Regions from separate parts of the Homo sapiens genome. Here regions 1, 2, 3, 5 and 6 are each linked to region 4. The links are contacts of gene promoters, found by promoter capture Hi-C in blood cells and fetal thymus (Javierre and others, 2016). All regions are on one chromosome and are shown on one strand. The core of a region is centred on a gene start or on the middle of the fragment in contact, and the rest is flanking DNA. Distances in the headings are between cores, read along the strand shown.

What was found. The method cuts DNA at HindIII sites, captures the fragments that hold promoters and counts their contacts. A CHiCAGO score of 5 or more calls a contact.
Region 1: the fragment with the promoter of SIKE1 here is called in contact with the fragment with the promoter of HIPK1 in region 4 in 8 of 17 cell types (naive CD4 T cells, total B cells, naive CD8 T cells and 5 more); the score reaches 8.8 in naive CD4 T cells.
Region 2: a contact is called between a fragment that was not itself captured here and the fragment with the promoter of HIPK1 in region 4, in 1 of 17 cell types (total CD8 T cells). The highest score is 5.1, in total CD8 T cells.
Region 3: a fragment that was not itself captured here is called in contact with the fragment with the promoter of HIPK1 in region 4 in 3 of 17 cell types (fetal thymus, naive CD4 T cells and non-activated CD4 T cells); the score reaches 8.3 in fetal thymus.
Region 5: a contact is called between a fragment that was not itself captured here and the fragment with the promoter of HIPK1 in region 4, in 3 of 17 cell types (total CD8 T cells, neutrophils and total B cells). The highest score is 5.4, in total CD8 T cells.
Region 6: a fragment that was not itself captured here is called in contact with the fragment with the promoter of HIPK1 in region 4 in 1 of 17 cell types (naive CD8 T cells); the score reaches 5.5 in naive CD8 T cells.

Annotation. Positions count from the first base shown.
Region 1 is chr1:114,778,337-114,782,768 of GRCh38, reverse strand. It overlaps SIKE1 (suppressor of IKBKE 1), which reads left to right and starts at 2,084. Exons shown (of 5, transcript NM_025073.3): 1 at 2,084-2,320; 2 at 2,554-2,659; 3 at 3,485-3,627. The coding sequence starts at 2,162. RefSeq lists enhancers at 1,702-1,821, 2,062-2,301, 1,766-2,331, 2,332-2,898. The HindIII fragment of the contact is 3,666 bases long and covers 961-4,432 here.
Region 2 is chr1:114,718,585-114,722,976 of GRCh38, reverse strand. CSDE1 (cold shock domain containing E1) reads left to right here. Exons shown (of 20, transcript NM_001007553.3): 17 at 2,260-2,438; 18 at 3,235-3,398; 19 at 4,232-4,364. Among named protein-coding and RNA genes, the nearest start is that of NRAS, 4.0 kb to the right of the region's middle. The HindIII fragment of the contact is 193 bases long and covers 2,801-2,993 here.
Region 3 is chr1:113,386,194-113,390,432 of GRCh38, reverse strand. No RefSeq gene overlaps it. Among named protein-coding and RNA genes, the nearest start is that of MAGI3, 2.2 kb to the left of the region's middle. RefSeq lists silencers at 1-272, 303-352, 1,342-1,586. The HindIII fragment of the contact is 1,038 bases long and covers 1,861-2,898 here.
Region 4 is chr1:113,927,035-113,931,063 of GRCh38, reverse strand. It overlaps HIPK1 (homeodomain interacting protein kinase 1), which reads right to left and starts at 1,740. Exons shown (of 16, transcript NM_198268.3): 1 at 1,532-1,740. It overlaps HIPK1-AS1 (HIPK1 antisense RNA 1), which reads left to right and starts at 1,539. Exons shown (of 3, transcript NR_110726.1): 1 at 1,539-1,702; 2 at 2,676-2,820. RefSeq lists silencers at 1,010-1,319, 1,340-1,389 and an enhancer at 1,510-1,829. The HindIII fragment of the contact is 2,173 bases long and covers 655-2,827 here.
Region 5 is chr1:114,760,320-114,764,247 of GRCh38, reverse strand. No RefSeq gene overlaps it. Among named protein-coding and RNA genes, the nearest start is that of CSDE1, 4.3 kb to the right of the region's middle. The HindIII fragment of the contact is 499 bases long and covers 2,155-2,653 here.
Region 6 is chr1:114,565,073-114,569,620 of GRCh38, reverse strand. It overlaps BCAS2 (BCAS2 pre-mRNA processing factor), which reads left to right. Exons shown (of 7, transcript NM_005872.3): 7 at 1,365-2,064. The coding sequence ends at 1,491. Among named protein-coding and RNA genes, the nearest start is that of BCAS2, 14 kb to the left of the region's middle. The HindIII fragment of the contact is 166 bases long and covers 1,815-1,980 here.

The DNA of each region.
Region 1 (4,432 bases), core at 835-3,334, 850 kb before region 4:
CTCCGGTATCACACCTCCAGCTCCTTGAAAAGGTCCTTATCAGGTGATATTAACTAATCCTTGTGCTTTTAAGTTATAGGGACTTACACATATCTCATCCAAAGAAGGCATCAACTCCTGCCAGTATCTGACACTAAACTGCAATTAACCAAAGCCTCATCGTTAGACTCAGGCAAAGGCGACAAAGTAAACTGCTTTCATGAGACACAGGGACAGTCTTGTGTTCAAAAATATTAAGATTCATTTAACAATTCTGCCTCTATCTGAATTAATATAATTTATTCTGTGCCTTGATACTAAATAATTTAAGTGTTTAGCTACCTATGAACTTCTTTTCCTGTTATTCTCAAAACTAGGCAGGGTTTATGACCTTTGTGTTTGAAATGTTGTTAATTCTTTCTGTTTTGTTTTACCTACAAAAGTTGAAACTCTTCAATCCCGCCATGCCTAGAGACTATAACGTAATGTTGTAAGGGCCAGTATTGAGAGCTAAAATTAGTTCAGACCCTACAAATCAAGGATGACACAGATGCCAAAACAGCTAAACAAAATGCTTGCATTTTGTATAGCTAATTGCAACAAGCCAAGATTACAGCAGCTCAATGCATAGAATTTATAGATAAGTCAATTTTGTAACCCTTGCCTTTTGGTTTTTGCCTCTTAACATTGCTTAAGAGGGGTTTTAAGGTTAATGAGTGCCTGCCCACCTCCTTCCCATCTGACCTAGAACGTTTAATTGGCTGTAACTCTTTTGACTCTAAGTCAGTTGGCCGCAGGAGGGACATGATGGACTCAGGGCAGGTAGCACACCACCCTGGCATTGATATGGGACAAAATTAAAGTTTGGACACTGATACTGTCTCTGGGATACCTTGACCAAAAAAAAAAAAAAAGTGGAATGCTGTTTTGAAGGCATGAGCCTAGCCATTCCCCATCTGCGAGCATTTGATTAGTAAAGCTTTCACCACAGGTCACTTCTCATGTTTTTGGCCTCTAGGCAGCAAGCAGCCAGACGTGAGCCAGTTGCAATAGCAGCATTATTGACAATAGCAAAAGGTGGAAGCAACCCAACTGTCCATCCACGGATGAATGGATAAACAAAACGTGGTATATATATATTATTCAGCCTTAAAAAGGAAGGAAATTCTAACATATGCTACTATATGGATGAAACTCGTGGACATTACACTAAGTGAAATAAGGCAGTTATATAAATACAAATGCTGTATGATTTCACTCATGTCAGGTACCCAGAATAGTCAGATTTGTAGAGACACAAAGTAGAATGGTGGCTGCCAGGAGCTGGGGATAAGGAAGAATGAGGAATTATTGTTTAATGAGTACAGAACTTCAGTACTGCAAGATGAAAGAGTTCTAGAGATGGATGCTGATGGTGGCTGTATAACAATATGAATGTACAACTGAACTGTACACTTATAAATGGCTGAGATATTAAATTTTATGTGTATTTTGCCACAATTTAAAAAAAATTAAATGAAAGTAGGCCAGGCGCGGGGGCTCACACCTGTAATCCCAGCACTTTGGGAGGCCGAGGCGGGCGGATCACTTGAGGTCAGGAGTTCGAAACCGGCCTGGCCAACATGTGAAACCCCGTTTCTACTAAAAATAGAAAAATCAGCCGGCGTGGTGGCGCATGCCTGTAATCCCAGCTACTCGAGAGGCTGAGGCAGGAGAATCGCTTGAACCCTGGAGGCAGAGGTTGCAATGAGCCAAGATCGCGCCACTGCACTCCAGCCTGGACAAGAGCAAGATTCCGTCTCAAAAAAGAAAAAAATAATGAAAATAAAAAGAAACTAACTGTGACTGAAGAACAACCCACATCAATGAAAACCAGTAGGGAAAGGAGACCTTCCCACTGCCCAGCTAATCATAGCCTGACCACCAGGCTGTGGTAACTGGAAACCAACGGCGTGGCAAGTGTAGGTCTGGGGCTCCGCGCAAGGAAGGACTGCAAGGAAGCCGCAGGTTAAAGCGGGTCAACCCGCAAAATAGGCTGCCACTGCGCAGGCGCCCATTGCGCCTACCAAGACACCTTGTAAACGTGCCCGGAAATGACGCCTGTAATGCTGAGACAGACTCCCAGAAGATCTGAGCGAGTCGCGTAGCTGAGCCCGGCAGGGGCTGGGGTGGTGCTGCTGCTATGAGCTGCACCATCGAGAAGATCCTGACAGACGCCAAGACGCTGCTGGAGAGGCTACGGGAGCACGATGCGGCCGCCGAGTCGCTGGTGGATCAGTCGGCGGCGCTGCACCGGCGGGTAGCAGCTATGCGGGAGGCGGGGACAGCGCTTCCGGACCAGGTCAGGCAGAGGGTAGGAGTCCAGTGCTCTCGGATTCTGGGCACTGAAGGGTGGAGAGCGAGGTAAAGTGGGAACTCGGCCTGGAATTTATTCCCGGTCTCAGAGGGCGGCGGTGAGACCATTTTCCTGGGTCGGGGCTGAGAATCCTGCCCTGGAGCCCTAACTTCTGCCTCTTCAGTTGCATCTGCCGCTGTTCTCTTTAAGGCATGCTTAGTCTGTCTCTATTTGTCCAGTATCAAGAGGATGCATCCGATATGAAGGACATGTCCAAATACAAACCTCACATTCTGCTGTCCCAAGAGAACACACAGATTAGAGACTTGCAACAGGAAAACAGAGGTTAGTCAGGCCTTTTCATATCTGGTAATAGTTTAAAGTTATTGCAAAATTGCCCTAAACATTTACAAAAGTGTACATATATTTCCAGGTCAGTACTTTTAGTAGGAGAGTCCTCCTGATCTGGCCCAGTAACAATAAAGTTTGTTAGATTACCCTTTTCAAGGTCATCTGACTAATATTGCAGCAGCTTACCAAAGAGGTGCTGTGTAGAGTTGGTATTATTGCATGGTTTATTTTTAAGCATCCTCAGATGTGTAACAAAAGAGTTCATAGCCTCATGGACTTAAAATTTAATGTTTAAGTATTAATATAAACACTGAAGGTAAGATTTAAGGTTTTGTTTATGTTCTTGTTTGTGCAAGGTGAAGCAGCAGAATTTTATTCTAAGGGTATATATTCTTAGGCTTGATTAGTACATTATTAATGATTGTGGTATTAATAGTTGTTTACCAGAGGGGTTTCACATATATCATTCTACTGTATTCTCATATCTTCATTTTTATCTACCACAATGCAGTTAAGAAATAGGCTCAGAAGAAGCTAAATGATTTACTTATGAGTATTAACCAAGCAAGTTACAGAACTGAACTCAAACACATGTCTTCTGATGATACATCCATTGTTGTTTCTGCAAGACTTTGCTTCTCTGCCTAGAAAGTTACCTTTCACATAGACTTTAACTGTTCAGTTTTGCGGACTTAAACATTGATTTACAACTTTAGATTCATATTATCTATATAGTGTTACAAAATTCCAACTGTTAAGACTTTGGATTTGGGAACTGTCTCTCAGACATCACTGCCAAGTTCTTTTATTTTTTGACAGAGCTATGGATTTCCTTGGAGGAACACCAGGATGCTTTGGAACTTATCATGAGCAAATATCGGAAACAGATGTTACAGTTAATGGTTGCTAAAAAAGCGGTGGATGCTGAACCAGTCCTGAAAGCTCACCAGTCTCACTCTGCAGTAAGAAACTTTGAATAAATTCGAAATGAACCAAATTGAAATCTTGAGATTGTTTTAGATTGTGTGCTTGTTTTTTTGCTTTGTGAGATAGGGTCTGGCTCTTGTCGACCAGGCCGTGGTGTAATGGCACGATCTCGGCTCACTGCAACCTCTGCCTCCTGGGCTCAAGCCATCGTCTCACCTCTGCCTCCGGAGCAGCTGGGACTACAGGTGCACACCACCACGCCCTGTTAATTTTTGTGGGGTTGTTTGTTTGTTTGTTTGTTTGTTTGTTTTTTGGTAGAGATGACATTTCGCCATGTTGCCCAGGCTGGTCTGAAACTCCTGGGCTCAAGCGATCCACCCACGTTAGCCTTCCAAAGTGCTGGGATTATAGGCATGAACCACTGCGCCTGGCCATGTGTGCTTGTTTTTGAAGAAAAGTAAGCTCATTTTCCTTTCATGTTTATCACATTTGTTGTTTATTTTGCCATGGCTTTGTAAAGATATGAATAGAAAGAAGGAGGATAGGGGCTGCTCAGATCCTTTTATTTGAGTGGGACTAAGGTTCCCCCTCCCTCACCAAGATCTCTTTTGAAAATGTTCATTAATTCTTAGCGCTCCCACCAAACATAATGCCAGTTAGTGTTGAAGCTGCCTGGTAAACACTTGGTTGGTTATTACTTATACATTTAACTTAAGCTCCTTGCTTGTAAGGCGCATGAATTCACATTTTATTCCTAACATAGTACCTGACATACAGCAGGCAGTCAGTAAACCTTTTATAAACTGAACCACATAGTATCATACTATGTTGTTAGGGGAG
Region 2 (4,392 bases), core at 1,648-4,147, 790 kb before region 4:
GAATAAAGTCCTTGCATCATCTAAGAGTCAGCGAACATAAAGTGCTGAATAGCAGGTCATTTGGGAGAAGGAAATGAACCTTGATAACCTATTCCTTTACCACATGGGATTCTTAGAATTTCTGTTCTACATAAAACCACTGTTCTCCCACCTCTAAATATGAATTTTTAAACAAATGCCATGACATCACACCCCTAAAAAGGCCATGGGAGTATGGACTACTAACTTTAACTCATAATATGATATCAAATTGCCCTTCCATCTCCTAACGTGCTGCTTTTACTTCCTTTTCCATCCCCACTTCCCAGTCCACTCATTCTTCAGCACTGGCTGTGGGATATAGTCCAAAGCAAGGGTTTTATTTAGGCATCTCTAAGCCTGGTGGGATATAGTCCAAAGCAAGGGTTTTGTTTAGGCATCTCTAAGCCCGGGACTAGACAGATTACATTTTCCCACTTGGTAAGAACTAGCTCTTTTATTCAGGAACACAACTGTAACTTATACTAAGACTTTGAAGTTGGGCAGACCTAGATCTGGACACCGTTCTAGCATATAATCTTGGACAAATAACTTAAATCTTTGCTAGCTCAGTTTCTTCATCTTTAAAATGGTAATACCTTCAGCCTTAGATGGTTCTATAAAGTATGAATCAGTATGTGCATCATAAATGGTAATTATTGATATTGCATGAGGTCAGACCAGCTTCCTCTAATCACTCTTCCCATGACTTGATCTCTTTGGATTATCTCCTCAAAGTTTTTTGGTTCCTGTATTTAAAATTAAAAGTCAGCTGGGGTCGAGAGTAGGGGCTCACACCTGTAATCCCAGCACTTTGGGAAGCCAAGGCAGGCAGATCACCTGAAGGTCAGGAGTTCGAGACCAGCCTGGCCAACATGGCGAAACCCTGTCTCTCCTAAAAATACAAAAATTAGCCAGGTATCATGGTGGGTGCCTATAATCCCAGCTACTTCAGAGGCTGAGGCAGGAGAATCACTTGAACCTGGGAGGCGGAAGTTGCAGTGAGCTGAATCATGCCACTGAACTCCAGCCTGGTTAACAGAGCATGACTCCGTCTCAAAAAAAAAAAAAAAAGTCAGGTGTGGTGGCTCACACCTGTAAACCCAACACTTCGGGAGGCCAAGGTGGGCAGATCACTTGAGCCCAGGAGTTTGAGACCAGCCTGGGCAACATGGCAAAACCCTGTCTCTACAAAAAATGCAAAAATTAGCCAGTCATGGTGTGTGCCTGTAGTCCCAGCGACTCAGGAGCTGAGGTGGGAGGATCACCCGAGCCCAGGAAATCAAGGCTGCAGTGAGCCGTTGATCGCCACTGCACTCCAGCCTGGGTAGCAGAGCGAGACCCTGTCTCAACAATAACAATGACAAAAATTCTTCACTTACCCTGTAATCATCAAGAGGATGGTTAGAAGCTTCTGCTTCCCACCTGTTTTTCTCATGTTTTCCACTATTGTTGACTGAGTACATTTGCCTGGATGCTGAAAATTGTTAGGCAGCTGAATTCTTTGGCATAGTTTTTATCTGTAGCCTGCACCGGGCTCCAGGCAACTTCATACTGTAGGGCAGGGCTCAGCATATATGGTGGCCTTTTCTTGTGATCACAGCCACAACCATTTGTTTACATATTGTTTTTCGTTGCTTTCTCACTACAACAGCAGAGTTGGTTAGACAGGATGACTTGCAAACCTAAAATAATACTCTCCGGCCCTTTAGGAAAATGGTTTTTGGTCTCTGATCTGGAAAAAGGAACCTATGTGAGGGAGCCAGAATTCGAACAAAAAAAAAGGAGGTGGGGTGTCAAATTTATCTAAATTGTTTTTGCCTGTGCCCGCCTAGTTGTTTACTGGCTCATTGAGTATGGGACAAAAGTATTTTTGGTTGGCTCATATTGTGAACTTGGGAAGAAGATAGTCCTGTGAATATTGGCAACCCATAGTGCTTAAAATTTAGGCAATGGGATTGTAAATGACAGTATTTTTTGTTTTAATTTATAAATGCAGTTTAAAATTGTTCATCAGCTAATAAAGTACTGATGGGAGCTGTGACATTCTCATTTGGTTCCATGGTAGTATTTAACATTTAGGATTTCATTTAAGCTTTAAGGTGAAACTTCTGAGTACTGAAAATGTAAATATATTTTAAGTAACATAACACATTTTTAGCAGTTATATAAACTTCCTAGGGTCATCAGCAGAGGACTGTTGTGAAATACTAGCTTTTAGACTTTGTACCTGTTTTACAGGCGATATGAAAGGTGAGGTCTATCCATTTGGCATCGTTGGGATGGCCAACAAAGGGGATTGCCTGCAGAAAGGGGAGAGCGTCAAGTTCCAATTGTGTGTCCTGGGCCAAAATGCACAAACTATGGCTTACAACATCACACCCCTGCGCAGGGCCACAGTGGAATGTGTGAAAGATCAGGTAAGTGCCAGCATCTCTGTATCTGAATTTGATCCTTCTATGAGTTGGTAACCAAAACCTTCAAATATTTTCAGCCAAGGGGAAATCATCAACATTCATTCGTTTTTTTATTTCTACTTCACCTTTTTTCAGTCATTTGAGGTAGCTTAATAAAAACAGAAAACTACACAAAAAGTGACTATATTAGCAATGAGAAAGTAAGATTGGTATTAGTAACTAATATTATGCAATGGGGAAAATAAGTTAGGGGTGAGATTTCCAGAATAGAAGGACTATATGGTTTTGTACACTTTTGCTTAGAGCTTCTTTTGCATATCACACAAACACAGAAACCACGTTCAAAAGTACTTAAAAAATAAGCTTAGGGCAAACAAACTTAGTCTTACTCCTGAGATCTCAGGGAAATCTGAGTCCTCAGAATGTTTTTCATCAGTACAGAGAATAATAACATTTTGTATGGCTGCTACTATAACCCAGCTTAATTCTAGAGGGGATCCAAACAATATATATGTTGAAGTAACAGCTTCCTGATGAGTTTGCTTAATTCAAAAAGCTTAGTTCATAATATACGAAGGAACAAGGCAAGTTTTATTTGTTTGGTTCAAGTTTGTGATATAGTGAATGGCACTTTCAGAGATACATTTCTTCCCTGACAGGTTTTGCCACAGGCAGCTGGACTGGAGTATCAACATTAATACCATGTTTTATACATCCTTTTAGATAGGGGCAGGCATTGTGCTTCATTCAGAGTGAGGTGTGGCATGCCCTCTCTTTTTTACCTACTTTTTTTTTTCAGTTTGGCTTCATTAACTATGAAGTAGGAGATAGCAAGAAGCTCTTTTTCCATGTGAAAGAAGTTCAGGATGGCATTGAGCTACAGGCAGGAGATGAGGTGGAGTTCTCAGTGATTCTTAATCAGCGCACTGGCAAGTGCAGCGCCTGTAATGTTTGGCGAGTCTGGTGAGTTTTGTTGTTGTGGTTTGATTAGTAACTACCCTGGAGTGTCTCAACTTTATAGTCTCTGTTTTGTCACATCACTTTTCTGTGCCTTGTCTTCTGCCACTTATTATTTCTTGATACTTCCTACTTCTAGTTGAATACAAAAAGATTGTTTAGTACATGTTTTTTAAAATTTTTGCCAAATTCTTCTTCTTCCATTAAGTCATTTCTAGGTTATATGCTACTTAAAATTCTAATAGTTTAGCCATGCTGATTCATAATGCCGCTTTGCTTCCCCAGAGACAGTCTCACAGTCTGATTCGGTTACCCAGGCGCTATCACGACTCACTGCAGACTCAACCCCCTGGGCCTAAGCAATTCTCCCACGTCAGCTTCCCCAGTAGCTGGGACTACAAGCATGCGCCACCACATGCAGCCAATTTTATTTTTTGTAGAGACATGGTCCCACTGTTTTGCCCAGGCTGATCTCGAACTTCTGGGCTCAAGTGTTCCTCCTGCCCTGTCCTCTCAAAGCGCTGGGATTACAGGTGTTAGCTACCACATCTGCTACCTTGTTTTTTTATGCATCTGTGGAACTGGTCACTCTTGATTGCATTCAAGTCTAGGGTCTGCAAATGATTCCTTCCATTCCTATTAAGTTGGGACCTTGAGTTGGGGATAATAATACATAAACAAACTTGTCTGTCCTGTCTTTCTAGCTAGGTATATGAGGCAAGAGTCCCATCATAAAAAGTGAGTCATTTGGGCAGTTAGGTGGAAAACACACTCCTTTGCAAGTGCTTGCTGTCTGCCCACCAAGTGTGGTTTCTTCTCATCTTTTGACTTAATTACAGTGAGGGCCCCAAGGCTGTTGCAGCTCCTCGACCTGATCGGTTGGTCAATCGCTTGAAGAATATCACTCTGGATGATGCCAGTGCTCCTCGCCTAATGGTTCTTCGTCAGCCAAGGGGACCAGATAACTCAATGGTATGAGGGCATACAAGGCTTGGGGGAG
Region 3 (4,239 bases), core at 1,130-3,629, 540 kb after region 4:
CCCCCTCCCGCCGCGCGGCGCCCGGCGCGCTGCCGTCACAGGCTGGGCGCTTGGGAACGAGCCCCGGCCCTGGACTCTCGCGCCAGGGATTGGCCCCCGGCGGGCAGGAGGCGGACCGCCAACGAGAATGGGGACCACTGGTTGGTCGGTGCGAGTGGAGGAGGCGGGCACTAGAATGACTGAAGTTTAGAGAGGGTGGAAAAAAGAAGTTTGGAGAGTGAGGGAGGGCGCAGAGGAGGGGCAGGGGAGTGGAAGGGGCTGTAGGTCGCAGGGCCGGGAGAGGCCCTCTGCGCGGCGGCTGGAGCCGAGGAAAACTCGAATCCGAGAGGGACCGAGCTCCCCGAAGTGGGGGCGTGGCCGGCGAGTTAGGCGGAGACGCGGGCGGAGCCTCTGAGCCTGTGCGGGGCGCAGAGAGGGGCCGGTGTGCTTAGATTGGAAGACAACGTGCGGAGTCCTGAGCCGGCCGAGGTTCCGGGGCCTTTAGGGTGGCCTGTTACAGCCGATAGTTTGCATTGAGTGGATATTGCTTGTTCATTCGTTCATTCAACAGATGTTACTGAACGCCCATTGAGGCAGGGCTTCGGAGTCCGGTTGATGAAAGATATTATAAAATAGAGTCCGGCACTGCTGTATGACCTAAGACAAATTAGACAACCTCTCTGAGCCGCAGCGTCCTCAGTGAAAAGTGAAGATTACAGAAGATGTACAAAATAACTGCATAGTGCCTGACAGTGGGTGGTTGCCTCTTAAAGTTTGGTAGCTGCTGCTGCTGCTGCTGATGACGATGACGATTTTGTGTTAGATATTGTGCTAGGTACTGGGATTCAAGGGTGAAGAAAACAGAAGCCCCGCTATTGAGGAGGTTACAGTCTAGTGGGAGAGACTGAGAAGTAAGCAGACTGCCTGAGGTGAGGGAGTGGGGTGGAGGTAGAAGGTGGATTATTAAGAACTAACCTGGTAGCCAGCAGATCTGGTTGGAGTCCTGACATGCTACTTACTTGCTGTTTGACCTTGGCCAAATCTCAGTTAAAGGAGGTGAAGGGAGAACGAACATTAAATAAAAGATATCGTAGATCCCTTCCAGCTCTAATTTTTCAGAAATTTCACTTGAGCTTTCTCTCTTCCCCGGCTTGACTTACACTCTTCCCTGTCTTTGGAATGCCCTTCATCTCATCTCTTTTAAAACTCCTATCCGTCCTCATCCCAAATGCCGGCTCTTCCAGGTAGCTTTCTCTGATTTCTTGCCCTCAAGTGGAAAGTGTTTTCTCTGAGCTATGATCTTTGTTTCACTTTTGCAGCATGACATTTATTTGTGTAGTCTCCTGTCTCCCTTTAATAGTAGGTGAAAGCCCTTATAAAACTCCACACCTCAGATAGACTGGACCAAGCTTCAATAGCTGCAGTGATTTCGTTGACACCATTGTATCAGTCAGGGTCCTGGCAGGAAACAAATGGCATTTTGCAAAGATGTGGGCAGGGTGTGGGAAACCACAAGAGAAGCTGGAACCCTGAGGCTACAGCTCCTAGATCTGTCCAATCGGGAAAGAACAGTTACCGAAAAATCCAGACACACAGGGCCACCTGACAGGAGTCTGTGACCTTCAGTCAACGGATGCAGTCAGCCTAAGTAAACACCCAGCAAAGGACCTGGGGGATTTATATCTAACTCACCACCCTCCTCCAGTCTCCTGCTGGTGCTTGTCAATGGCCAAGTCCAACCAGACGCCAGAGGGCAAGGGAGGCTTTTGATATAGTTCATATCAGTCAGTTTCAGAAAAGGAAACAGTGCATCTGAGGGGAAAATATTCAGCACAGACACCATGTGGATGGCTCAGATTTAACCATATCTGAGACAAAGCTTGGAGTATTTTTTTTCTAAACTACTACCTATACTAATGGATTCCTGGATAAAATCTCCATAACCTACACATCATCTGTTTTTGCAGGAACTCTGGGAAAACATCTTTCTGTGTCTAGATTGCATCTGTTAGAATGCCTTTGGCCTCAAGGAACAGAATATTTGGCAGTAGCTTAAAGCATGAGGTCATTTACTATATCTTCAATATAAATTTCAAGTGCAGATAGTTTCAGGGTTAGTTGAGCAGTACAATCATGTCATCAAGGACCCAAGCTCTTTTTTGTGTTTGCTCTCTGCCATCACATGCATGTGAGCTTTTGTCTCCAGGTTTGTCACCTCTTAATTGCAATGTGGCTGCCATAGCTCCAGACATCACATCCACAGAGGTCACTGCACAGAGCAGGAACGGAAGAAAAGGAAGTGCTGTCCCCCATTTTTATGAAGGAGAAAAATATTTCCCAGACTTTAGAATCTTCCTTATTGTCCAGAAAATGGTCATATGCCACATCAGACCAGTCACTGGCAAAAAGAGATAGGATTGGCCACAGTTCATTAAATTGATCACAAGTCACCCCTAAACAAAATGAGTGTTCTGACTGAGAGCAGAAAAGGGGAAATAGTTGCTAAGTAGGCATCCAACAGTGTTTGCCACATGCCTCAACCATGAATAAGTTGTATTCATTCTTGGGCAGAAAACTGCAGTGGTTCAGAGCTTGAGCAAATCAGACTGCAAATCCCAGCTTTTCTACTTACTGCAAATCCCAGCTTTTCTACTGCTAGCTCTGTGATCTTGAGCAAGCTATTTAACCTTGCCTATCCTCAATTTCCTCATCCACAAAATGGGTTTGATGACAGTGTTTACCTGAGTTGTTGTGAGAACTGTATGAAGCTATTTGAGTCAAGTAATTTGAGTCAAGCTATTTGATAACATAGGATGCAGCATAGAGCAAACAGTAAATTTTTATTTTAGTTTGTGCTAAATTGTACTATCTTTGACAAAGCTAAAAACATTGTATTAAATTCACCCATCTTAGTAAGCTTTGGTTCAGTTTTTAAAATATTCTAGAAATAAGCTACCCATGCTATTGAATTAATTCTGGTAGGATATTATTTTGGCAATTATTACATAAAGGGGTCATATTTTAAGCTTCTATCTCTAAAATGACACCTAATTAAATAATCGTATTGTATTCATGTTTATCACGACTTTCCAAAAATAATGGTTGGTTTAATAGTTGTGATTTCCATTGGGGAATATTAATAAACCAAACAACATGGAACAAAAATAATAAAAATAAATGAGGCAATTGAATTTGGTGATCTCCAAGGTTTCTTTGGGCTATCCCTATCTAATCTATCTAATCTATAGAGCTAGAGATAGCTATGTGTGTTAGGCCATTTTTGTGTCATTATAAAGAAATACCTGAGGCTGGGTAATTTATAAAGAAAAGAGGTTTAGTTGACTCACAGTTCTGCAGGCTGTACAAGCATGGCGCTGGTATCTGCTTGGCTTCCTGGTGAGGCCTCAGGTAGGATTCAGTCATGGTGAAAGGTGCAGCAGTGGCAGGCACATCACATGGTGAAAGTGGGAACAAGAGAGGGTGGAGGTGCCACACACTTTTAAACAACCAGGTCAGGTGTGAACTCACTCATCGCCAAGAAGACGGCACTAAGCCATTCATGAGGGATCCGTCCTGTCCCCATGATCAAAACACCTCCCACCAGGCCCCACCTCTGACACTGGGGATCACATTTCAACATGAGATTTGGAGGGGACAAATATCCAAAACATATCAATATGTTTCACTATGGAAACTTTACAAGTTCAGTCCCAAGATGGCTGCAGAGGCTCCAAGTATCACATCCACACACAATAATGGCTAAAGACTGAAAGGAGGGAAAAGGATATTTCCTTTCCTCATTTCCTTTTTGTAGATCAAGGAAGCCTTTCCCCGAAAGGCCTCCAGCAAGACTTCTCCTCTAGCTTCTTGGCCACAGTTTCCCAAATTTCCTTTACTAAATGAATCTTTGCCAAGGGTAATGAAATATCTTATTACTTATCCAGTATCACCTCTGGTACTCTGAAGGGGGCCCTGCCTCTTGGCTGCACAACATAGGGACAAAACTTGGCGGGGAGGGGTCTCTTAGTAAATACAGGGAGGGGAGATTAGCTTTTGGGTAAGCAACTCACAGTGTCTGCCACGTGTACACTGCATTGATTTGCTTCTAATAATTTTTTTTTAAGCAAGGTGGAAAGTTTGTTTTGTTTCATAATATTGTGCCTAATGTTTCTAATGACAGTTAAGTAAACCCACTCCTGACCGTGCACGGAGGCTTAGGCCTGTAATCCCAGCACTTTTGGAGGCCAAGGCAGGCGGATC
Region 4 (4,029 bases), core at 491-2,990:
AAGCCACACTGCTGTTTTCACCAGTTACTAAGAAACAAGATAAAGGACAGATTGGGACAGAGAGTCTATAGCTGAAAGTATTATGTTGATGCAATTACTGAGAATTCCCAAAGTGTCACTAATAGACAAGAAAGAGCATCTAGGACTGCCTCTAAATGAGTCTACCTACAACAGAATCAGTGATTAAGTAAAGAAAAGACTTACTGGAGCTTGGGGGTTTTCCCCCCCTCTTCCCTACCCGCATCCTCCCATCCTGAACCCCCCTCCCCAAGTAGGAAAGAAAGCTCGCCCAGCATAAACACAGGCCATTGCTCACAGCTCGTCACCACAACAAACTGGAGGTTAGACCAACGCTCCTGGAGACGGAACTCCACGTCTTGGTTGCTAAGCACAAAAAGGGGACTCTTCCCCACAGACCTGTGAACAGTGTGGGCCTTACCAGAATTTTGGTTGTTTCTCCACCTTCCCCCTCCCTTTTGTTTTTTTAACGAAAGCTTTGAAAGTGGTGGCAGCAAAAGTTTCCCTTTGGGCCAGACCTCTAGATCTCCCTTGTACAGATATACATTAGGTGGGCTGGTCTCACGTAGTCTCCACCGTCATTACGAATTACAAGCCTAACGACTACAGAACATCAGCGGAGACGACAGAAAAGCTTCCACACCCACCCCACTGTCGTCCTCTCCAGGCACGGCTTCCTGGTCCCAAACAGCACAAATAACCCAAAACCATGGTGATAAGCGGAGCTGTGAAGTACACACGCACAAGCCACACACTGGGAACCTGCCACGACAGCCGGGGAAAAAACCGGCCGAGTGAGGAGACGCAAGGCGGTCCCCTGTCACTTAAGGACAACACGCCCAGGCGAGAAGTGGCAGGAGGCAGGGGGAGTTGCCCCGAAAACCAGCCCGGAGCCTCCCCACCTTCCTGGGAAGGCAATCCCCTCAGCGGCAGTGAGCGGCCGGGCCGCAAGACGCGGCGCCCGGTCCCAGGCAGGGGCCCTTTGAGGAAGGCGCCCCCGGCAGGCTGGGCGCTCCAGGAGAGCCGGCGGCCGGCCCGGCCCCGCCTCAGGGAGCTGAGGGGAAGTCGCTCCCCGCCGAGGACCCCTCCTGCCCGTCCCCACTCACCGCCGGTGTGTCTGGTTCTCAGCCGCGAGCTGGGGCTGCCGTGAGGAGGCGGCGGAGGAGACGAGATCTGGGGCCCCGCAGCCGGGTCATCATACCCCCCGCGCGAGCCGGCCCGGGCCCCGGCCCCCGCCCCCCGGAGCCGTCCCCGCGCCCGTCCCGCAGGGGGAGCCTCCTCAGCCTCCCTCCCGCTCCACCACCCAGCCCCTTCCCGCCGCCGCCGCCGCCGCCTCAGCCCCGCGCGCTCCCGCCTCGGCCTCCTGCTGCCGTCCGGGGCTACCGCCGGGCCCCTTGCTCCGCAGCCGCCGTTGTCGCCAGACCCGACGAACGGAATGCCGAGCGGCCGTCCCTCAACCCGGCCGGCCCCGCCTCGCCGGAACTATTCACCCGCCCCGCGCCATGACACCTACTGAGGCGGAAGTGCAGCTGAATGGACTCTCTAGGACGATCGCATAGTACTGATTGCAGTAGGAGTCGGTGGGCCTCGAGTAGGTGGGCCTCCGTAGGGAGCCAGCGTGGATCGAGTGCGGGGCCTGGACTTCCCGCCCCCTCCGCACTGCAGACTCTGCGGTGATTTAAAGGTGCCTGGCGGTGGTACGGGATCCAACTGTAAAATGTCATCCCAGCTAGTGTGACATCACCACAGTTTAGTGTGACACCCCCAGAGCTTGGGCAGTGTACGGGACGACAGTGCCTAGCAGAGGAGCTTCACTGCCGGTGAGGGATTACCTCAGGTTAGGCTTTAATGTTTCGTTGCCGTCTAGAGACGTTCTAGCAATGTGACATCTGTGTACCATATCTGGAAGTCTCCCTGTACGTCAAGAGCCCCTTAGGGGAGTCTCCCATTGCCGCCGTGGGAACCTGTGTTTACATTACGAGGAGAGAGAATAGCTGTACTCTGAACTCAAACGCTCAAAACATGCAGTGAGCGAATGCTAGCATAATTTTCTTGCCTCTACCAGAAGGAAGGCTGGGTATTTAGGAAACAGAACGCGTTGGGCACAACATTCTGAGAAAATGGACACAGAAAATTAGGTTATCCTAATAGAAAAGCAGTTGCATCTCCCAAAGTCAAGAGATTCTGTAGGACTTCCGATGTATCTCCTGCTGTGTAAAATATTCAGGTTCCTGAAGTGGGGGACATTTTTAGGGCAACTGTAATTTCTTCATTTTTTCCATCCCACAAGTGCTGGAGGCAGCAGTGATCTGAGCTCTAGAAAGTGACTGTCCGTCACCATCGGTATTTGCATATACTCTGTGAGGAGAAGGGCAGTTGTGGCTAAGACAAAATTCTACTATCAAGTTTTGTTTCTCAAATCTCACTCATTAACATCTTTGATTTCCTTGGATCCCCATAACACACACAGAAAACTATGATTTGTGTAAAATGCGCTGAAGTACCTTTTAAGGGAAGTCATTTGGCTTTCTCTCTGGCTTAACAACACGGGGAGCAGTTCCATTTTATCTGGAACAGGGAAGTTTATTTCCCTAGAGAACTAGGGTTACCAAAAATGTTCGATCCCACAAGGCAGTTTTGTTTGCATATTTTCACAGAAACTTCCTTCTACTACTTAAAGTCCTCACATTGGGCTGACCTGGGAAACATGAAGATAAAAAGAGTGGGTAAACATGCCTGCTTGATGAGCCAGAAAAAAAGGCAGAAACCTGTGGTCTGGGTAGAACAGATCCTGCTCAGAATGTAAGCTTCAAACATGTTTATCATGCCTTGGTTCAACCTAACTCTCTGACATGTTCCTAAACTCCTGCTCTCTCAAGTTATGTCCCTTTCCTCTTTTCAAATATCTCTCAGAATTCACCCTTTCGGGAACCTTTGCTGATTGACTCCTATTTTATTTGAATTCTGCATCATCATCTGATTACTTAAATTAACCTGTACCTTCTTTATTTATACTTGTTAACTTCTATTTTCATTGCTCTTAGGTCCTCAGTCTTTCTCACTATACGGAGAGCTTCTTAAAGTCTGTATTTTCTCCTCTTTAGTATCATTCACTCATTCATCCAGCAAACTGCTTGTGTGCCTGCTCTGTGCTATACACTCTTCTAGACACTGGGTCAGGTATGAATGAGACAGGTGAATAAAGCATGGTCTTTTCCCTCAGGGACCTTACAGTCTAATGAGGAAAAAACGTGTGCAGACATATATAAGATAAGTGAGAGAGTCGGAGAAGAACATCAGAAGTGATATTTGAGCATAGTAAGGTCAAAGAAGTTTCAAAGTTTAGTCATTTGTCCATTCAGTAACTATTTATAGAGCATCTTCTGTGTGCTAGGCACTATATAAGAAATTAAGGGGCTGGGTGTGGTGGCTCATGCCTGTAATCCCAGCACTTCGGGAGGCTGAGGCAGGTGAATCACCTGAGGTCAGGAGTTCGAGACCAGCCTGGCCAACATGGTGAAACCCCGTCTCTACTAAAAATACAAACATTAGCCAAGTGTAGTGGCGCATGCCTGTAATCCCAGCTACCCTGGAGGCTTAAGCAGAAGAACCGCTGGAACCCAGGAGAAGAAGGCTACCATGAGCCGAGATTGCACCATTGCACTCCAGCCTGGGCGACAGTGAGACTCTGTCTCAAAAAAAAAAAAAAGAAAGAAAGAAAGAAATAAAAAAAAAAGAAATTAAGGATACACAGAAGAAAAGGCATGGTCTGTGCCCTGAAGGAGCTTACAGTTAAGCAGAGAAGTTGCACGATTTGGAAGTAGTAAGGTAAATTGAGTCAGATTTTGAAAGGCAATGTAGAGCTGTTAGAAGTTTATTCGCACAGGTAGCCAGGCACAGTGGCTCATGCCTGTAATCCCAGCACTTTGGGAAGCCAAGGTGGCAGATCACTGGAGGTCAGGAGTTCAAGACCAGCCTGGCCAACACAGTGAAACCCCATCTCTACTACAA
Region 5 (3,928 bases), core at 1,155-3,654, 830 kb before region 4:
TTCTTCACTCCCCTAGCAGAGGTTCCCCATGAGGGCTCCACCTCTACAGCCAACTAATGCCTGGACATCAAGGCATTTCCGTACATCCTCTGAAATCAAGGCGGAGGTCCCCAAACCTCAATCCTTGACTTCTGCACACTCACAGGCCCAACACCATGTGTCAGCTGCCAAGGCTTGGGGCTTGCACCCTCTGAAATAATGGCCTGAGCTGTACCTTGGCCCCTTTTAGCCACAGCTGGAGTTGAAGTAGCTGGGACTTAGGACACCGTGTCCCAAGGCTGCACATATCCCAAGGCTGCACAGAGCAGGGGGTCTTGGGCCTGGCTCAGGAAACTATTTTTCCTTCCTTGGCCTCCAGGCCTGTGATGGAAGGGGCTGCCATGAAGGTCTCTGACATGCCCTGGAGACATTTTCCCCATTGTCTGGATGATTAGCATTTGTCTCCTCATTACTTACGCAAGTTTCTACAGCCAGCTTGAATTTCTCCCCAGAAAATGGGTTTTTCTTTTCTACTGCATCATCAGGCTGCAAATTTTCTAAACTTTTATGCTCTGCTTCCCTTTTAAATACAAGTTCCAATTCCAAACCATATATTTGTGAATGCATAAAACTGAATGCTTTTAAGAGCACCCAAGCCACCTCTTCAATGCTTTGCCACTTAGAAACCTCTTCCATTAGATACCCTAAATTCTCTCTCTTAAGTTCAAAGTTCCACAGATCTCTAGGATAGGGGCAATATGCTGCCAATCTCTTTGCTAAAGCATAGCAAGAATCACCTTTATTCCAGTTCCCAACAAGTTCCTCATCTCCATCTGAGACCACTTCAGCCTGGACTTCATTGTCCATATTATTATCGGCATTTTAGTTCCAAACTTTCCCACATCTTCCTGTCTTCTGAGTCCCCAATTCTCTAGGAATTTCCAAACCTTCCCACATTTTCTTCTTCTGAGCCCTCAAAACTGTTCCAGACTCTACCTGTTACCAGTTCCAAAGTCGCTTTCACATTTTCGGGTATCCTTATAGCAGTGACCCACTAACTCCTGGTACCAATTTGTTGTGTTAATTCATTCTCATACTGCTATAAGGACACACCCAAGACTGGGTAATTTATAAAGGAAAGAAGTTAAACTGACTCACAGTTCAGCTTGGCTGGGAAGGCCTCAGGGAACTTATGATCATGGTGGAAGGGGAAGCAAACATATCCTTCTTCACTTGGTGGCAGGAAGGAGAATGAGTGCTGAGCAAAGGGGGGAAAGCCCCTTATAAAACCATCAGATCTTATGGGAACTCACTATCACAAGAAAAGGAGCATGAGGGTAACTGCCCACATGATTCAATTACCTCCCATTGGATCCCTCCCATGACATGTGGGGATTATTCGAACTACAATTCAAGATGAGATTCAGGAGAGGACACAACCAAACCATATCAATAATGAAAATGGCTACATATTTTCTTCTAGAGCTTTAGGGTTATTTTATTTATTTATTTATTTTTAAATTATACTTTAAGTTCTAGGGTACATGTGCACAACGCGCAGGTTTGTCACATATGTATACATGTCCCATGTTGGTGTCCTGCACCCATTAATTCGTCATTTACACTAGGTATATCTCCTAATGCTATCCTTCCCCCCCTCCCCCATCCCACGACAGGCCCTGGTGTGTCATGTTCCCCTTTCTGTGTCCAACTGTTCTCATTGTTCAATTCCCACCTATGAGTGAGAACATGCGGTGTTTGGTTTTTTGTCCTTGCGATAGTTTGCTGAGAATGATGGTTTCCAGCTTCATCCATGTCCCTACAAAGGACATTAACTCATCTTTTTTTATGGCTGCATAGTATTCCATGGTGTATATGTGCCACATTTTCTTAATCCAGTCTATCATTGATGGACATCTGGACTGGTTCCAAGTCTTTGCTATTGTGAATAGTGCTGCAATAAACATATGTGTGCATGTGTCTTTATAGCAATGGCTACATATTTTCTTATTAGTAATCCATAAATGATGACCTACCATACAATCACTACTGCCTTGGATTCAATAAAATAAGTGAAATTTACTCATTCAATGAATATTGTTTAAGTATTTACTGTATACGTAAGTCACTGTGCCAGGTTTTGGGGATACAATGATGAACTAGAGAATTGAAGCTTATGCTGTAGTTCAGAGGGATGAGCAATAAACAAATGGAAACTGATAGTTTAGTGGGTACTTTTACTTTAGAAAAGGCCTTTGTAAAGTGGTTAACATTTGACCTGAAATCTGAATGATGAGAAAGTGCCCAAAGATTTGGGCTAGAACATTCCAGGCAGAGACAACAGTAAATTCATGGGCCTTGAAGTAGGAACAAACTTACAATATAGGAAGAACCAGTTAACCAGGGGTTAGAGAATTTGGTGGGGACTATATCATTCAGGGCCTTGAAGAGCACAGTAAAAGAGTTTGGATTTATGTTAAATACAATTGGATTTCATCAGGATTCAGTTTAAGTTAAATTATAAATATTCTGTTGCTCTACCCTTCCCTCTATTAACTGACTCCCAGAGCTACAATGTTAGATGGTTACTTTTGGTGCAGCATTTTAGCATGTCCACATAATTATCCTATTAAGTGCAATTTTAACATTTTAAAGGGAAGCATTATATAAAGCTTTTGCATTCTTATTTAAATTCTAATATTTTATTACATTAGTGGTATTATGTTATTCTTATTTATATAATGCCCTTTAACTGTTTAGAGGCTGGTTAAAGAATAAAAAGTTTTGGGTTGTAGGCCTATAGGACCAAATCTTAATTATTTACATTAATTCTTATGGAAATAATTCTTCTTTATGAATGTTTTTGCTCTAGAAGTATTATTTCTGTTCTGAAACCTTGGATGTGGACCTCTTTACCATGCACTATTATCATAATTTTATCTTATTTAATGAAATATTTTTTAAGACCTTGTCTCATTCTGTTGCCCAGGCTGAAGTGCAATAGCACGATTATGGCTCACTGCAGCCATGACCTCCCAGGCTTAAGCAGTCTTCCCATCTCAGCCTGCTGAGTAGCTGGGACCACACATGCATCACCATGCCTGGCTAATTTTCAATTTTTTTGTAAAGACGGGGTTTCGCTACATTGCCCAGTCTGGTCCGGAACTCCTGAGCTCAAGCGATCCTCCCACCTTGGCTTCTAAAGTCTGGGATTACAGTTGTGAGCCACCGTGCCCAGCCTATCATAATTTTATAAAAGAAGATCCTCTTTAGTTTCCCTAAACAGGGAGGACATGTCAGAATAAAAACAACTCTTAAAATCTGGAATAAATTTAGCCTTATTTAATTTTTTTAAAAAAGCTCTATATTGACCTAATTTTTCTCATTCGACAGAGAAATGACAAAAATCTCACCCACCGCTGCTCAAGAAAACCTTACAAACTGTAAGAAATGCTTACTTTTGATTCTAAAGTAGACTTCAGAGATAATGTACTTATTGATGATTGTAGAGGGAAAAAAAGCACACAATCATTATCAATTTCATTGTCTAAGTTTTTCAGAGTAGAAAACTAAATATGATGAATAACTAAAAATAATTTCTCAAATTTTTTTCTGATGGTTCCTTAACAGACTATCTTCCCAAAATCCATGTCACCCTGTTGCATAGGAGATGGTTTTCCAAAGTGATTTAACAAGTTTCTGATTTAATTTAAAAAAAAACATAAAAAGATAACCACATTTTTTCAGTTTTTGATTTGACTTCAAAATTCATCTGAAAAAAATCATTATGTAGTGATCTAATAATGAAACCTACTTCTGTTTGTGGGTTTTACTTGTAGAAACAGTAAATCATTTTAACTTGTGATTTATATCAAATTGTTCCACCTGTTACTTTCTTTAATGCATTAGAAGCTAAAATGTATATTTCTCGGTTTATACAGACTGCATT
Region 6 (4,548 bases), core at 648-3,147, 640 kb before region 4:
TGAGGCAGGAGGATTGCTTAACCTGGAAGGTTGAAGCTGCAGTGAGTCATAATCACACCACTGCACTCCAGCCTGGGCAACAGAGCAAGACCTAGTCTTTAAAAAAAAAAAAAGGAAAAAAATTATTTTATAAAATCTTGTAGGGAGGGAGATTTCATACTTGGTAATTTTTTTGTACCTCAGGTTTATGCATTTTTAAAAATGTTCTTTTACATACACACATGTATACCTTTATACAATATAATCTTGAATATTTGTGTCATTTCTCTCTTCCTTTTTGCTTGGCCATTCCCTTTCTCCCTTCATTACTCAAGTCATTCTTGTTCCACCGTCTCCATGTACGTCTTACCAGTCTCGTTGGTACCCTTTCACGCTTTTTCCTCAATTTAATAAACTATTGCCTCTTTCCTTTTTGTTGATTAAATACTATCTTCATCACTCTTTCCTCTTTCTTCTGGTTTGCAAGTTCTCTCATCTGTTTCTAATTTGCTTTTTTATTAAACTTTTATTTTTAGATAATTATAGATTCACATGCAATTGTAAGAAATAATACAGAGAGCCAGGTGTGGTGACTCACATTGTAATCCTAGTGCCTTGGTAGGCCAAGGTAGGAGGATTGCTTGAAGCCAGGAGTTCAAGCCAGCCTGGGCAACATAACGAGACCCTGTCTCTACAAAAAAATGCTTTTAAATGAGCCAGGCATGATGGCATGCACCTGTAGTCTAAGCTCTTCAGGAGGCTGAGGTTGGAGGATTGCTTGAGCTCAGGAGTTCCAGGCTAGTGAGCTGTGATCACACCACTGCATTTCAGCCTAGGCAACAGAGCAAGACCCTGTCTCTGGAAAAAAAAAAAAAAAAAAAAAAAAGAATACAGAGAGATTCCATGTACCCTTTACCTACTTTTCCACAATTGTGCCTTGATTTTTTTTTAATGGAAAGTTGAAAGTGAAGGTTAGGCCAGGCATGGTAGCTCATGCCTGTAATCCCAGCACATTAGGAGACCGAGGTGGGTGGATCACCTGGGGTCAGGAGTTTGAGACCAGCCTGGCCAACGTGGTGAAACCCCATCTCTACTAAAAATACAAAAAAGTAGCCAGCTGTGGTGGCGTGTGCCTGTAATCCAGCTACTCGGGAGGCTGAGTCAGGAGAATCCCTTGAACCCGGGAGGCGGAGGTTGCAGTGAGCTGAGGTTGCGCCATTGTTCTCCAGCCTGGGCAACAAGAGCGAGACTCCGTCTCAAAAAAAAAAAAAAAGTGAAGGTTAGTGTTATAGCTCTGGGTGAACATGTGTATACATTTAAAATAAAATCTTCTAAGAGAAGTTTTACATTGAGTAATTTTTTTCTTTTCTTCCCCCCCATTCTAGTTGGGTATCCCTGGTCAGTAAGAATTATGAGATTGAACGGACTATTGTTCAGCTAGAAAATGAAATCTATCAAATTAAGCAGCAACATGGAGAGGCAAACAAAGAAAACATCCGGCAAGACTTCTGAAAAGACAATTTAGCAGGTAGAAGAAAAGTTGGGCTTTCACAAAAGGCATCTGAACTTTTAATGAACTTTGAAGGACAACAGCATCTTCCCAAAACCATTGATGTTTAAGTGTTTAGAAATCATAGAAGGTGTAGGCTGCTGTGGTAATTCTATTTGTATATCTCAACAGAATTAAAATGTCTAGCTTGGTGGTATTTTTATAGCCATAAAAGAAAATCTTTAGGCTTTCAAAATAAGGATGACTTTAGAATAATATTGTGTCATAGAATTAATTTTCAGCCATGTGGACCATATTTTGTATCCAAGGATCCTTATTTAAAGCTTTCAACATGTACAGGAAGTTGGAAATTTTTGGTTTATGACTTTGTCTAATAAAGAGATAGTTCTAAACACATTCTTGATCACCAAACAACTTCAGAAAGACAGTGACTGTACAGTTATCATTATCATCATCATCGTCATCATCATAGGTAACAGTTATATCAAGCTTAATATGTGCTGAACATTGTTCTGAACACTTTAGGTAGATGAACTAGATGTATGTGAATAAAAATTATTTGGTCCTCACAAAAACCTCAGGAGGCGGTTACTGTTTTTCTCATATGTGGACATGTAACAGACACCAGTTAAATAACATAACTTGCCAGAGTTTTATAGCTGAAAGTGTCAGCTTTTTTATAGAAAGTTGTCAGTCAGGTTTTGAACCCAATAGTCCAGCTCCAGAGTTAATGTTCTTACTTCTCTACTTGTAAGGAATTAAATTGTGTAAAAGATTCCTGCCCAATTCAGAAAAAATATTTGCAACATATCAAAAGGTAGTGTTGCTAGGTGTGGTGGCTCACGTCTGTAATCCCAGTGCTTTGAGAGGCTGAGGCAGGAGGATCACTTGTGTCCAGGAGTTCAAGGCCACCATAAGCTATGATTGTGACACTGCACGCCAGCCTGGGTGACAGAGCAAGACCCTGTCTCAAACGAAGCAAGGTAGTCTTAATGTATAAAGACTGACTGAAAATTATTGCAAGGTCAGTGGCTCACACCTGTAATCCCAGCACTTTGGGAAGCTGAGGTGGGCAGATCACGAGGTCGAGAGATCGAGACCATCCTGGCCAACATGGTGAAACGTCATCTCTACTGAAAATACAAAAATTAGCTGGGCATGGTGGCATGCGCCTGTAGTCCCAGCTACTCGGGAGGCTGAGGCAGGAGAATCGCTTACACCCAGGAGGCAGAGGTTGCAGTGAGCCGAGATTGCACCACTGCACTCCAGCCTGGCGACAGAGTTAGACTCTGTCTCAAAAAAAAAAAATTACTGAGAGGTGTTCATCTCAATAACTGATAAATATAAATTTGAAAAATCTAAAAATTATTTTTCAATTTTGAAAAAATAAAAGGATGTTCATTATAATACAAAATAAACCTAGAACTTTTTGATCTGTGATATTGATAAATGGTTAGTACTTTCGAAAGTACCTTAATACAATTGAGAGCCCCATTTCTTTTTGTTTGTTTGTTTTGTTTTGTTTTGCACTTGTTGCCCAGGCTGGAGTTCAATGGTCTGATCTTGGCTCACCGCAACCTCCACCTCCTGGGTTCAAACAATTCTCCTGCCTCAGCCTCCTAAGTAGCTGGGATTACAGGCATGTGCCACTTCGCCCGGCTGATTTTGTATTTTTAGTAGAGACGGGATTGCTCCATGTTGGTCAGGCTGGTCTCAAACTCCCTACCTCAGGTGATCTGCCCAAGTCAGCCTCCCAAAGTGCTGAGATTACAGGTGTAAGCCACCACGCCTAGCGAGAGCCACATTTCTGTGTTGAAGATAGGGATTGTAGGAATGAACGCATATGGAGTGTTGTCATCCATCTCTTCATTGCCCACCCTCGAACTTCTCTCAGAAGGAAATTGGAAGAGTTGTGGAGTATCTGACCAGCCTAAGAGAAAAGACCTACTACAGTTGTTGAAATTGAGAGTTTCCCAACAAATGACCAAGCCAGGACACAGAGCAGAGAGGCTCAACAAACCACCCCGCAACCAACACAGCTTCTAAACCGTGCTTTAGCTCCCGACTTTTAAACATGAATAGACAGTTGAGGATCACCAGATAAGGCAGTTCTACATTGTGAAAGATAAGGAGTAAAACAAATCTGGGAAAGACTATGGAGAAATAGATGATGCAAGAAGAAAAAAATTGTTTTTAAGAAATATATCCTCAGGTTGGGTGTGATGGCTCATGTCTAAATCCCAGCACTTTGGGAGGCCAAGGTGGGAGGATAACTTGAGCCCAGAAATTTGAGACTAGCCTGGGCAACGTAGTGAGACCCCCATCTTTACAAAAAATAAAAGAATTAGCCAGACATGGTGTTGTGCGCCTATAGTCTCAGCTACTTGGGGGGCTGAGGGAGGAGGATTGCTTGAGTCCAGGAATTCAAGCCTTTAATGAACTATGATTGTGACACTGCACTCCAGCCTGAGTGACAGAGCCGGACCGTGTCTCAAAAAAAAAATCCTCAGAGGAGATACTGCAGCCATAATAATATATAAGATGTTATTAAGAAACAGAACAAAACAGCTTGTCGAAATTAAAAAATATGGTAGCAGGAATTAAAATTCAATGGGAAAGTTAGGAATTAAAGTTGACACACTCAAAGAAAGTGGAGGCAACAAAGACAAACATGGAAAACAGAGAAGAGAAAATAGGAGGACTGGTCTGGAAAGTCAGTAGCCGAATAACCTGAGAAAACAGGAGGGAAGAAGTCATCAAAATAATTCAGAATTTTCCAGAACTGATTGATTGATAGAATTTCCAGAGTCAAAAGGTCACTGCACAATGGATGAAAATAGACCAACTCCGGAGCATGTTACTTGTGAGATATGAGAACACCCAAGCACACGAAGATTCTGCAGGCGTGTAGGGGGGACGGAGGGGCGGATTGTTACATATAAAGGATCAAGAATCAAAATGTCTTCACGCTTCTCAACAACATCTTTGGAAGCTAGAAAGAAGATAATGTAGAAGTGCCTTTGGAATTCTTACAAAAAATTATTTCCAACCTAGAACTC